Linked DNA regions of Homo sapiens: region 1 is linked to region 2. The links are contacts of gene promoters, found by promoter capture Hi-C in blood cells and fetal thymus (Javierre and others, 2016). All regions are on one chromosome and are shown on one strand. The core of a region is centred on a gene start or on the middle of the fragment in contact, and the rest is flanking DNA. Distances in the headings are between cores, read along the strand shown.

Evidence for each region. Contacts are between HindIII fragments. The CHiCAGO score rates a contact against its expected background, and 5 or more counts as called.
Region 1: the fragment with the promoter of DAP here is called in contact with the fragment with the promoter of MED10 in region 2 in 4 of 17 cell types (non-activated CD4 T cells, naive CD8 T cells, naive CD4 T cells and 1 more); the score reaches 10.9 in non-activated CD4 T cells.

What each region holds. Positions count from the first base shown.
Region 1 is chr5:10,758,596-10,764,841 of GRCh38, forward strand. DAP (death associated protein) reads right to left here and starts at 2,639. Exons shown (of 4, transcript NM_004394.3): 1 at 2,419-2,639. The coding sequence starts at 2,473. It overlaps DAP-DT (DAP divergent transcript), which reads left to right and starts at 2,441. Exons shown (of 3, transcript NR_187555.1): 1 at 2,441-2,621. RefSeq lists silencers at 2,195-2,624, 2,705-3,174 and an enhancer at 2,697-3,542. The HindIII fragment of the contact is 9,246 bases long and covers 1-5,850 here.
Region 2 is chr5:6,374,138-6,379,902 of GRCh38, forward strand. It overlaps MED10 (mediator complex subunit 10), which reads right to left and starts at 4,410. Exons shown (of 4, transcript NM_032286.3): 1 at 4,225-4,410; 2 at 3,029-3,112; 3 at 187-289. The coding sequence starts at 4,346. RefSeq lists enhancers at 4,145-4,354, 4,645-4,864. The HindIII fragment of the contact is 6,030 bases long and covers 2,761-5,765 here.

The DNA of each region.
Region 1 (6,246 bases), core at 1,389-3,888, 4.4 Mb after region 2:
GTACCCTGATGCTGAAGCGGGACGTGAGACTCACTGCAGCAAACACAGCCCCACCCTGTGACTTGCCCCGAGGCCCAAACCTCGAATTTCATAAAGGAGAAAAACTGAGCCCCAGTGAAGCGTGAAGTGATGTCTTCAAACTTAGAACCCAAGCTCACTGCTACACTAGCACAAATAAGCTGCCTCTTCCCTCCTCAGGGGTAAATAAACTACTTACTCTGTAATTCACAAAGCCTAGCTGTTTACTCTGCAATTCAAAGAAAACCAGAGTCCAGCAAGGAATTTCTCCCAGGGAGTGAGTATGTACAGTTTATACCTCTGACCTTAAAAATCTCCATATGGGCACTTTGGAAGGCTGAGGTGGGTGGATCACCTGAAGTCAGGAGTTCAAGACCAGCCTGGCCAACATGGCAAAATCCGGTCTCTACTAAAAATACAAAAATCAGCCAGGTGTGGTGGCAGGCACCTGTAAACCCAGCTACTCGGGAGGCTGAGGCAGGAGAATCTCTTGAACCTAGAAGGCGGAGGTTGCAGTGAGCCAAGATCGTGCCACTGCACTCCCAGGTGACAGAGTGAGACTCTGTTTCAAAAAACAAAACAAAAAACTTCTTTATGGGTGTGTCTCTGTATGCAATTTAATTACTGTACTTTGGTTCTGTATCATTCCAACAGATACGCTTTAATGTAACCCATGTCCTGGGGAGTGGAGGGCCAGAGCAGGTGGCTGCTGCAGTTCCTGGAGGCAGCCCTGCCCGGGGTGGAAATCAAGGCGCTCCTCCCCACAGTGGACAGGGACCCGCTGTGGTGGAATGGAAGTCAGTTATCCTTAAAAGAAATCCCATCAAAAAAAAAACTCCCTTTGAAGTACTTTTTTTCTTAAAACCAATGCAACACAAATTCCCCCAAAACCATTTTCCATCACAGTGGAATGATTTTCTAAAACCCCATGCCTCTTAAGTTCTCTGGCATCAGTTAGACATTTTTCTTTCCCAGTGCCAGTTAGTTTTGTTGTAGAGAGCCTCCGTCACCACTGAAAAATATTGCCTACTCTGGACTGCAACATATTTAAAGAACGGCTCCTATTCATTGTGCTGGTGCAGAGAATTCCCGCCCTATAGCGGAGGACAGCAGAGAAGGATAATGGGAATCTTTTTTTTTTTTTTTTTTTTTTTTGAGATGGAGTCTCGCTCGCTTTGTCGCCAAGGCTGGAGTGCTTTGGCTCAATCTTGGCTCACTACAACTTCTGCCTCCCGGGTTCAAGCCATTCTCCTGCCTCGGCCTCCTGAATAGCTGGGATTACAGGCGCCCGCCACCATGCCCAGCTAATTTTTCTACTTTTAGTAGAGATGGGGTTTCACCATGTTATCCAGGCTAGTCTTGAACTCCTGACCTCAAGTGATCCACCCTCCTTGGCCTCCCAAACTGCTGGGGTTACAGGCATGAGCCACCGCGCCTGGCCAGGAATCTTTATTGTCAAGAAAATGGCGCAAATGTGCCACCAAAAGAAGCCATGTTTCTCAAAGACTTCTGTTCCTACAAGACTGAGTTTATGACACTAAGGCGTGCTATTAAGACCTAAAAGAACCTCACGCATCCATACATTGAAGTGACTTGGCTTCTGAGACCCAAGGCCTTTGATCTTCTCACCAGTGTCCCTCCATATGGGCCGACTGCCACTGGAAAGGAGAGTAGAAACGGAAACAGACCCGTCTGGACAGAATCCAAAGTGCAAACAGGAACTGTGCCCAGAGAGAGGAGGAGGTGGCAGAAGCATGAAGGCTGCTTAGATCCCTATGTTCTAAGAAAGACCGCTCTTTCCTGGCTTTAACTTCCTTGGCTCAGAAGTTTAGGATTTGCTCAAAATCAGAAAAAGCAACTTTGGGGGAAAAAAAAAATCTGGATGTGGAAGAAACTGGCGGTGAAAGTCATATTGAGTGATTAATGATAAAAATTATTTCCGCTCCTTGGTTCTTGAGTCGGTATGAAACGCTGGCAGCCTCTAATTAATCATCACCATGATATTAACACCACTGACTTTTCATTGCTTCTGCTACTTTCTTTCTAGACATCTGTATCCTCTAAGTAAATATTATCCGCCAAAACTTTGTTATAAGTTGTGCAACTGGGTTCGCCCAAGGCACCGGAGCCTGCGCGCAATCGCACAGGTACGCGGCCGCCCGCGGTCCTCAGGAAGAAACGCTTCGCCGCCGCCGGCAAGCGGGGCCGAAGCTCCGGCGGGCTCCTCCCGGGCCTGGGCGCCCGACCTCTCCGCGGCCCGCGCCCCTCGGGCGGGCATCAAGGCCCGGAACCCGTCTCAGCGCTCGCCGGGGCCCTCCCCGCGGAGCCCCCGCCCGGCGCCCCCGGGTTCGAGCCCGCCCCCGGCACCCGCGCGTGGAGAGAGAGGAAAAGAGTCAGTACCGGCGGGCGGGTGTCCAGCTTTAGTCTCTAGTTTCCCTTCGGGAGGCGAAGACATGACGCGGCGGGGCTTCCGCGGGGCCGAGGCGGCGGCGCGGTTCTCGGGCCGGGCGGGCGTGCGCGAGTGAGCTCAGGTGTGAGCGCCGGGGAGCGAGCGGGCGGGAGAACGACGCGCGCGCGTGGGGCGCCGGGGCCGCGCGAGCCGGGTGAGTGCCACTGCCGTTAAGGGGGCGCGGCCGCCGCGCGCCGACGTGGCGCAGCCGAGCCCACCGACGGCATGCGCACTGACGTCACCGCGGCCCGCCCGCCCTGCTGGGCCGCGAGCCAAGCATACGGTGCGTGCGCAGCCGGCCGCGCCACGTCGGATGCTGTGGCCGGGGGCGGGGGCGGGGGCGGGGGCGGGGGCGGAGGAGGGAGGGGAGAGAAGGGGTGAAGAAGTGAGAGGGAGAAGGAAGGAGAGGGAGGCGGGGTCCCCGACTGGCTGCGGGGACTGGAGTTGCGGAAAGTTAAGTAGGGCCCAGCTGAGGATGGCTCCTGCAGCGAACGCGCTCAGCCGGGCTCCTGGCTACGCGGCGACGGCTGGGTGACTGCGCCCCACAGTGCGGGCCAGGGCCGGGGCGTCCCGGCAGGGAGGCGACCGTCCCCTGAGGCCCTCAGCCCCTGCCGCGGCAGCGCCTAATGAAGCGCGGAAAGGAGAGCCCAGATGGCAGCGACGGGGGCCGAGAGAGCAGGAATTTGTTAAAAGACGATGCGAGGGGAGAGCCTGCTTTCCGAGTGAGGGCCAGCGCTGGGGAGCAGAGACGGTGGCTTCTGTCCCTGCCCTCCTCGTTATGAACCAAAAATAAAATTCTAAGCCCTGCAGCCAACGGATGGACCCTCCCCTCCGCCTGTGGCCTTCTAAGTTATCTTGAAAAACTAGTTCAGGCCTTGATGGGAAGCGGAAGTCAAACATGGCCTCACAAACATCCGCACGGAGACCCTAAGACTAATAGAGGACTCTGATAAGAAACATTTGCAGTGTATTCCCGGCTTCATCTGCATGATAACACCTTGGTCTCCACAACTCCTTCATGCAACCCGGACATTCCCTTCTACTGAGTCCAGGTCTTTAGATGATAACTCTCAACCAGTTGCCAATCAGAAAACCTTTAAATGTACCTATGACCCGGACGCCTCCACTTCACATTTTACCTCCTAAAGAGCCAACCTACATCTTACGTATTGATTGATGTCTCATGTCTCCCTCAAATGTATAAAACCAAGATGTTTCCTGGCCACCCTGGGCACATGTCATCAGAACCTCCTGAGGTTGTGTCAATGCACGTCCTTAACCTTGGCAAAATAAACTTCCTAAATTGAGACCACTCTCAGAAACTTTTGGTTTTCACCATCATCTTCCTGTTGCCGTGGCTGACCCCTGGCTCTCGTGCCTTGGATCGTGTTCTTCCCGCCTGCCCCAGTGTTTTGCAACTGCTGTTAACTTCCGCAATGCCTTGCTGGATTCGCATTCAGACAGGCCTAATCTCTTTAGCGAAGGAAACACCACCCCTCGCTTGGCTGTACTTTTCCCTTTGACAACAAAACTGTTCAGGGAGGCTGAGCTCCTCATCTCTTGTCACTCCCTCCAGTCCAGTTTGTCTGGTTTTCATCAAGTTCTGCTGCACTGCCCTCAACCATGGGAGGTCCTTTTGTGGAAGTCACTTATAACCTATGTGCTGCCAGATCCAATGGTCATTTTCTACTTTCATTCTATTTGAGCTCTTAGCAGCACTTGATGCAGCTGGCCGTCCCCCTCCTCCTTTGCTCCGGAGGTGCCACATCACTGCCTTACCCTCCAGTTCTCTGGCCACCCTGGCTGCTCACTCTGTCAGCTTGGCAGTTCGCCCTCTTCTAGATTTATAAACATTTGAGTATCGCAAGGCTCAGCATTGGCCTTCTTCTCTATCTAGACTTCCCATAGATAGTCACATGCAGCCTGTGGACGACTATCATGCAGATGCTTACAGGTGCCAAATCTGCAACCTCATTTCTCTATTTCTGCTCCTCCCCTGAACTCCAGACTCACCACCACCACCACCTGCAGACGCTTATGGGTGCCACATCTGCAACTTAATTTCTCTCTTTCTGCCCCTCCACTGAACTCCAAACTCACCACCGCCACCTTGGCTTCTCTATTTGTTGTCTAACTCAGTGCTGCGCAACTCTGTGCATCAGGGCACACATGGAGATGCACATAGCATACATTGGTCTTGCATTCCCCACTCCATACACACATTTCAACACCGGTAATAGGATAATTGTTGGCCAGGCTGCAGTCATGATATGCTTGCCATTGTCTTGCATTCACATCCAAACTTCCAAGTGGGTGCCAGCAGTTTAGAAGAGAATCCTGAAATTAATACTGGGTTACTCTTTAAAGAGATAGCACATCACTCACGTTCTTAAAGGTTTAAGGATACCTAACTGATTAATTTCATGAGTAACTTCCTTTTTATGTATGTGCAAAAGTGCTATATAGTTAAAAACTTATGTCGTATGTCTTAAGCCTAAAGAATTATTTCTTGGAAGTATAAAATGAAAATTTTAAGTTGAAAGAGCACATTGTGGTATCATTTAATTGGTAGTGTTTTTACCCTTAGTGGTACCTAAAACAAAGTTGCATGTTACGAGCCACAGCATCTTAGACTCAATAACAAATGCTATTGGTAAGGAACCCTGGGGGGTGGGGGAGAAAGCCTTCACAGGAAGGAGCAGAGCTCCAGAGGGGCCCTGGTGGCCCCTGGACTGCCCTGAGGTCTGACAGGTTGTGTCTCTTTGCCTGTGACCTGTTCTCCAGGTTTGTACTGATTGGGAAACTCTGGTTGTCTTACAGTAGGTAGCTAGTCGGCCTGAGCAGGGCAGGAGAGGACTCTTCCCCCACAACCCACACCACCAGAAATGTTGTGTGACCATCAGGTGATGGTCAGGAAGTTGTTACACTGTTTCTCTAAAATAATAATTGGTTGCAGTCAGTGCCAGGGAAAGGCAGTCTCCCAGTAGATAGAAAAAACCTGAAAGTGGTGGTCAGCAGCTTCCTGGTAAGATCTCTTTGCCACACATCGAGAGGCAAAATGGCAACGTTTGACTGGTATATGACCTTCTAGGAACATGAGGCTGGTAAGGGAAGATTGCCTCAAGTGAGCATGTGTACACTTCCAATAAACACACTGCCCCTGCTCACTTTCCAAGCGCTGGCAAGTCACTGTGCATGTGGACAGCCTACCCCAAGGGAAGAATCAGGGGATAAGACTGATCCCTGAAGAATCAAGGGATGCAAGACTCCAGAAGTATGCCAATGTATAAAACCCTAAGTCAAAGGTCAAACCGTGCACTTGATCTCTAAAGTTACCTGCTTGGCCATCTTCCAAGTGTACTTTCCTTTTGTTCCAGATCTAAAGCTTTTTAATAAACTTTCACTCCTCCTTTAAAGTTGCCTCAGTCTCTCTTTCTGCTTTATACCCCTCAGTTGAATTCTTCCTTCTGAAGAGGCAAGAATTGAGGTTGCTGCAGACCTGTACAGATTCACTGCCACTAACGTATTATATTTGGGTGCTACGTGATTCAGGTACATTCTGCTCCTGACAGTGTGACAGCCAAGTTAATTTTACATCTTCAAAGAACTCTTGATTTCCCACCTATCGGCAAATAGCTTCTCCTCTAGAATACAATCCAAGCTACTCATTACAGTGTGGAATAATCTGTCTACTCAATAGCATTTCTAATGAAGGAAATACTGTTAAGAAGGTAGTGAACTTCGCAAAAAAAAGACATTTATTTTTCAGCTTCCCTTGT
Region 2 (5,765 bases), core at 3,160-5,659:
TTTTATGCTATTACGCAGCTGATATCTAATTTTACTTACTGCCTATTACACAATTCAGAAATCTCAATATGTGAAGTTATGAAAGTCAATATTCTAGCAAGTATGGAAAAAAATGAGTCTCTTAACCAAATTCCACTGAGAAGGCATCTCTTCCCACTGTATTTCTGACACTCCTTAGAGTCTTACCTTCATGGTGTCGATCTTGCCTTTAACTTGCTCATTTTTAGCTAGAGCCCTCTCCAGGCACTCTTTGGTGTAGAGCTGGGGATTTCGACCTTGATCTATATATCTGGAAACACGATATATTTCAATTAGCATTCTCATGACTGACACCTATTCTCACAGCTTTCTGAAAGGTATGGGGGAATAAAGGTTAGGTATATATAACTGCACACGGCCTTGTTTAGACAAAACTCAGTGTAGGAACCAGGGGAATTAATATTCCCTCATTTACACAAGTACAGATCATCTGATTTCATTACTTCTGATAATACGAACAGCTCATAAAATCAAGTAATGATCACTGATAAACCCAAGCACGCTTCACAAGCCATACCACTTTACATGTGTTTAGCATTTGCACTTTTCAAAATTCGTTCATGCTATTTATTACCTTTTTGATCCTTACAGCAGCTTGTATGGTAAGGCAACTCTTGACAAAAGAAAAAACTAAATGAGATCCAGGGGTTCGGGCCTGGGTGACATAGGCGGATCCTTCCACGATGCAGCCTCCATTCTAGGTCAGCCCTGCTGCTTGGCAAAGCCCCTCCTCCTCTGTGGAGGAGCTTCAGGGGAAAGGAAAGGAGAACTACAAGCACAAGAGCCCCAGCCCTGACGACCCCAAGATCCTTTTACAAACCATTCCACTGCTTTAAAAAGAAGAGGCGGCTTGATATACCACTTTACTAAATACACCTAGGTAACTTAAATATAACAGAGACATTCTGGCCAATTATTTCTAAACAGTATAAAACTGTTACTTAGAATTTCTGACACTTCCCCCAGAAATTATCTTCAGTATCCTGAAGATTTAATTAAACATACTGCCTAGATCAATACCTATATTTTACCAAGAGCAGGCCACCTACCTTTTTCTGTACCCTAAAGAAATCCTTATCATTCAACTAAACTGAATCATTCATTATTTAAAAAACAAAAAACAAAAACTGAAAACTAACTCTACTTTCGAATTTTATAATTGAGGCCAAAAATATATAATCACTTCAGAACAAGATATCATTAGGTTACTACTAATGGTATAAAAAGTAGCCTTGATAGATAGCAAAAGATAAAAACATCACAAGTTCTAGAAATTCTATTTCATTTCAGTGTTTTTGAAATAATGTAATGTGGCAAAATTATGGTTAATTCTAAACAAAATCTATCCATTTCTCAAGAAAAACCTGACAGGCTCACAGAATAAGGTTAACCATGTCAGCTGACGGTCGTTTCTTCAACAGCATGGACATCCTGCTCAGACTTGGTTCTTTGAAGACCGAAGGGTGAACCCACTCCTGCCCACACACAAAGTCCTGGAGACAAGGGCCAAGCTGCTTTCACCTTAGCTAAAGACACAGTTGGTGTGTATGAAAATGTACACGCTGCAAAGGCCACTGGGACCTGGAAATTCCTTCTACATTGGGTAGACACCAACCACCGATTTGCAGATAAACTCCCAGCATCTGCTCTGTATTAGGGCTCACTGGCATACTCTTCCTGATACCCCAGGTCAATCTCATCCATCCCCGTGCCCAGCACTTCCCTCGGCCCTTAAGCAGTCTGTTCACATCAGTCTCCATTTGTTCTGCTTCAGAAGACACAAGTAGTTACTTGCCACTTGTCACTATATGCATCCCCTGCATTCATAATCAGAAGAGCACAAAGGAGGATGCTCTGTATTCCTGGACTGAGAAAGCCAAAGCTGAGTCTGGAGCTACCTGAGGTGCAAGACCTTCGTCCCACCTGAAGTCAGAGACCTCAGTGGTGCCCACTGAGCACAGGTAAGGAACATGGGGCAAAGTCATCAGCAGGTGAACAGAAGATCAGAGACCAAGAAAACCACCTCTGTGTCCTGTCTTTGTAGGCAGCTGCTGCACTATAGCTAGAACTTGTATCTCTGACCTTTTGGGATGGAAAACAGCCATAACTCTTTCCCTTTACTGCTTAACGAAATCTAGTGATTTACATTTGCAGTTTTGCTGCAAGAAATACTAGAATGTTCTTGCTGTTCCAAGCCAGCACCATCAGGGAGAGGCTGCTTTGCACTGGTCAAGAAAGTATGAGTCCGGGGGTTTCGTCTTAACTCTGACACTTACTAGGTAAACAACCTATTGCAGTTACTTATCAGGTCCTTCATGTGTGAAATCAGAGATGTGACCAAATCAATGCAAGAAAACCTGGATTTTAAAAATCTAAAAGCTCATTCCTGTATGTGTTCTCAGGACTATTACTAACATAGGTGCACACAACTCTCGCACAGAAAACAGTGAGCAGCCTCCCCAAACATACTTGGAATAAGAACCCTTTCTTTCCTCCTTCGACAGAGCAGATATTTTCACCTCTCAGAACTAGCACTCCACGGGCAGTTTGGGAACATCAGACCAGCTTGCTTTTCAGGTGCTTCTGGCTGCCATTTTTTAAAAATTTACAATATAGCCCTCATAGGACTTTTCACCTCTTAAGGAAAAAAGAAAGTTTTGTGGCTGTTCTTTAGCCTAAGCAGGGCTTTGAGGACCTATGATGTATTTCATATATTTAATAAGCTTTTATTTACATGTAACTTTTTTTCCACAATAGAATATTAAGGATATTCTTTTTTTTCGTTTTGTAATGCCATTAGAACGGAAGTTCCATAAGGGCAGGTATTTTTGTATTTTTGTCTATTTTTTTTTCCACTGGCACATCCCCAGCACCCAGGCTGTGCCTACCACACAGCAGGCACTCGAATGCCAGTGATGAAGAAGTCACGATACCACACCATAACTGAACAAGATTTATACCCAAGACTAATATCAAGAATGTTACTTACTCAAAAACTTCTAACGGTACAGTAATATCATGAAGCTGCTGTCTGCACTTGTCAATATCCTGTAAGCCAGTAACAATAAAATTCCTGGGGGAAAGGCAAACACACAGGCATCTGGTTAATTTCGCTTGACAGCATAAGCACCACCCACAGAGCTACCCAGCCAACCGGGGCTCCACGCAAGTTCGTTCTCCTCACAGCTATGCGGGTTACACACGGTTCTGACCTCTTTGGTTAGCTACAGGATTCCTAGGACACCGTTAGAGTTACAAAATACCCTTAAATATTTGTTACTTTCCTTCTCAACTAGAAATTGCCAGTAAGGGGGATGGAGAGGGAACCTGATGAAAAATATGAACCTTCTCTCAAAAACAATTACCTGACTGTGCATATGACTGTGTGTGCGGTTTCAGCGAACACATGAGGCAGCGGACTATACTCAAAGTCTGAGGGAAAGAAAGCCATACTGTCTGGTTTAGCTTCCTCTCCTCTCTGGAGCCTTCCTACAGCATCAGGCTGGTCTGGCTATTCCCACAGCACTAGGTATGGAACCTCGAGTGCAACATTTTCTATGTCCGTGCCACATATAAAGCCCTTCTCGAAAGTGCTGTACTTGCATTTGCCTTTTCTCCAACCCAGGGCCTAGCAACATGGGCAGCACAAGGCTGTTGCCAAGAAATAATAATAATAAACGTTCTGCAACCTTTCTCAGCACCACCTCCCCGCTATTTCCTCCACTGTCAGGCCTATGCGGCAGGTGGCTTCGGAGCCTCACCTTCTGAGGCCTAGTTTAGGGCGTGCACTCACTGTGGAGCCTGCCTCCCCTCTGGAGACAGGGACTGAATTCCCAGAAGGGCTCCAGGAGGAAAAGGCTGGGAGGGGGTTACACATGAGAGGGGAGACGCTAGAAGAGAAAGCATGATTCCCTTGATAGGGAAACGTAAAGTATATCATCTGGCCATGACGACGTCTCCAAAGGGGCCTCAAAGAGGTTGGCTCTTGGCAACAGGCTGGAGCGCGGGCCCCGCCCTCTGAACACAGCCAGGAAAGGCGCCCCGGGCTCCGGGACCAGACCAGAGGGCTGGCGGGGCACGAGTAGCGGTCAGGCTCGGCTCGGGCTCCCTAGATCCCCGCTCCCCTAGCACACGCTTCCCGGCCAGGCCCTGGGGAGACCCCGGCAGCCTCGGGCCGCCACTCACAGCTTTTGGTTGAGCCCGGCCTGGCTGCTGGGCTGGAAGTCACTGACGATGATGCCGAGCTGCCGAATGTTCTCCACGAACTTCTCCAGGTGCTCCTCTAGGTGGTCAAACTTCTCCGCCATCGCCTCGGCCCGTCCCCGACCCACACAGCCTCAACCAGCAGCGCCGCAGGCGTGGCCCTACGCTCCCGCTTCCTGCTTCCGTCCGGACAGATACGACTTCCGTTTCCTCTGGGGGAGCGCGGGCGAGCTCTTGGGGGCGGAGCCTCGTTATCGGGACGGGCGTGTTGGGGCGGGGCCTAAGTGCGGGGCAGGGCGGGCTTTCGGGGATGCGGTCTGGATTCTGGAGGAGGCCTCGGCGCGCAGCTGGGCGAGTACTAACTGTTTGCACTCTCATCAGACCTGCCTCGGTCATGGGAGAAGTTGAAGACTTTCTGCAATGCAGCATCTTCAAGCAATACACACATGGATGAAAATCCTAAAGTTTGCATGAAGGACCAATAACGGTAGTTTCCCTGCCCCTCTACCAGAACCCCTGGGATCAGCGCCTGCCTGCCTCCTTTCTTCTATGTAATCGGCGGCCACCTCCCCTAGCTCTTGCTGCTAACCATGCTTCCCGGACACCTGCTGCCTTCGTAGGTCAGGGTCTCACCTCCTCGGGCCAATTCTGACCAAACAGCACCCTGTGGGGTTGCCCTGTCTTAGTAAACTGCTGTTTATCTCATTGAAATTCAGTTTAGGTCATTTCACTCTTATGTTTAAGAAACTTTTCTGCCCGATCTCCTATGATAGCGGATATCTCCTCTAGCCTGTTTGAATTTCTCAAGTGATTTATTTTACTGAATATATTTGTGGCCTGTACTTTTCAGTGCCTAGAAACAGGCAAAGTGAGGGAGCTCCTTTGCTAGATGATCTTCAGAGCCTCTCCCAGCTGTGACCAGAAATGGAAAGCCAGAGAAGGTAAGTGACTTGCCAAACTTATGGAATCAGGGCACTCCAGTTGGTGGGCTGGGCTGATAAACAGAAATGTTACATAAAATACTTCTCTCCTGATTTAACAACAATTAACTTTAGGGAATTATAAAACAAGATGGAGGCTGGGCGTGGTGGCTCAGGCCTGTAATCCCAGAACTTTGGAAGGCCAAGGCAGGTGGATTACCTGAGGTGAGGAGTTCGAGACCGACCTGACCAATATGGAGAAACCCTGTCTCTACTAAAAATACAAAAATTAGTCAGACATGGTGGTGTGCGCCTGTAGTCCCAGCTACTTGGGAGGCTGAGACAGGAGAATTGCTTGAACCCAGGAGGCAGAGGTTGCAGTAAGCCGAGATCATGCCACTGCACTCCAGCCTGGGCAACAGAGCAAGACTCAAAAAAAAAAAAAAAAGGTGGAAATAAAATATTAGACAAATAAAAAATTTTAAGTTATTAGGTAGAGGTAGCGACATGGAGTGAACGGCCTTTCTCAATTTCATAAGTAAGAAAGATAGATAATTGATGGAACTTAGGCTTTGGTAAGTATTTATTTTAAAAATTTAAGGG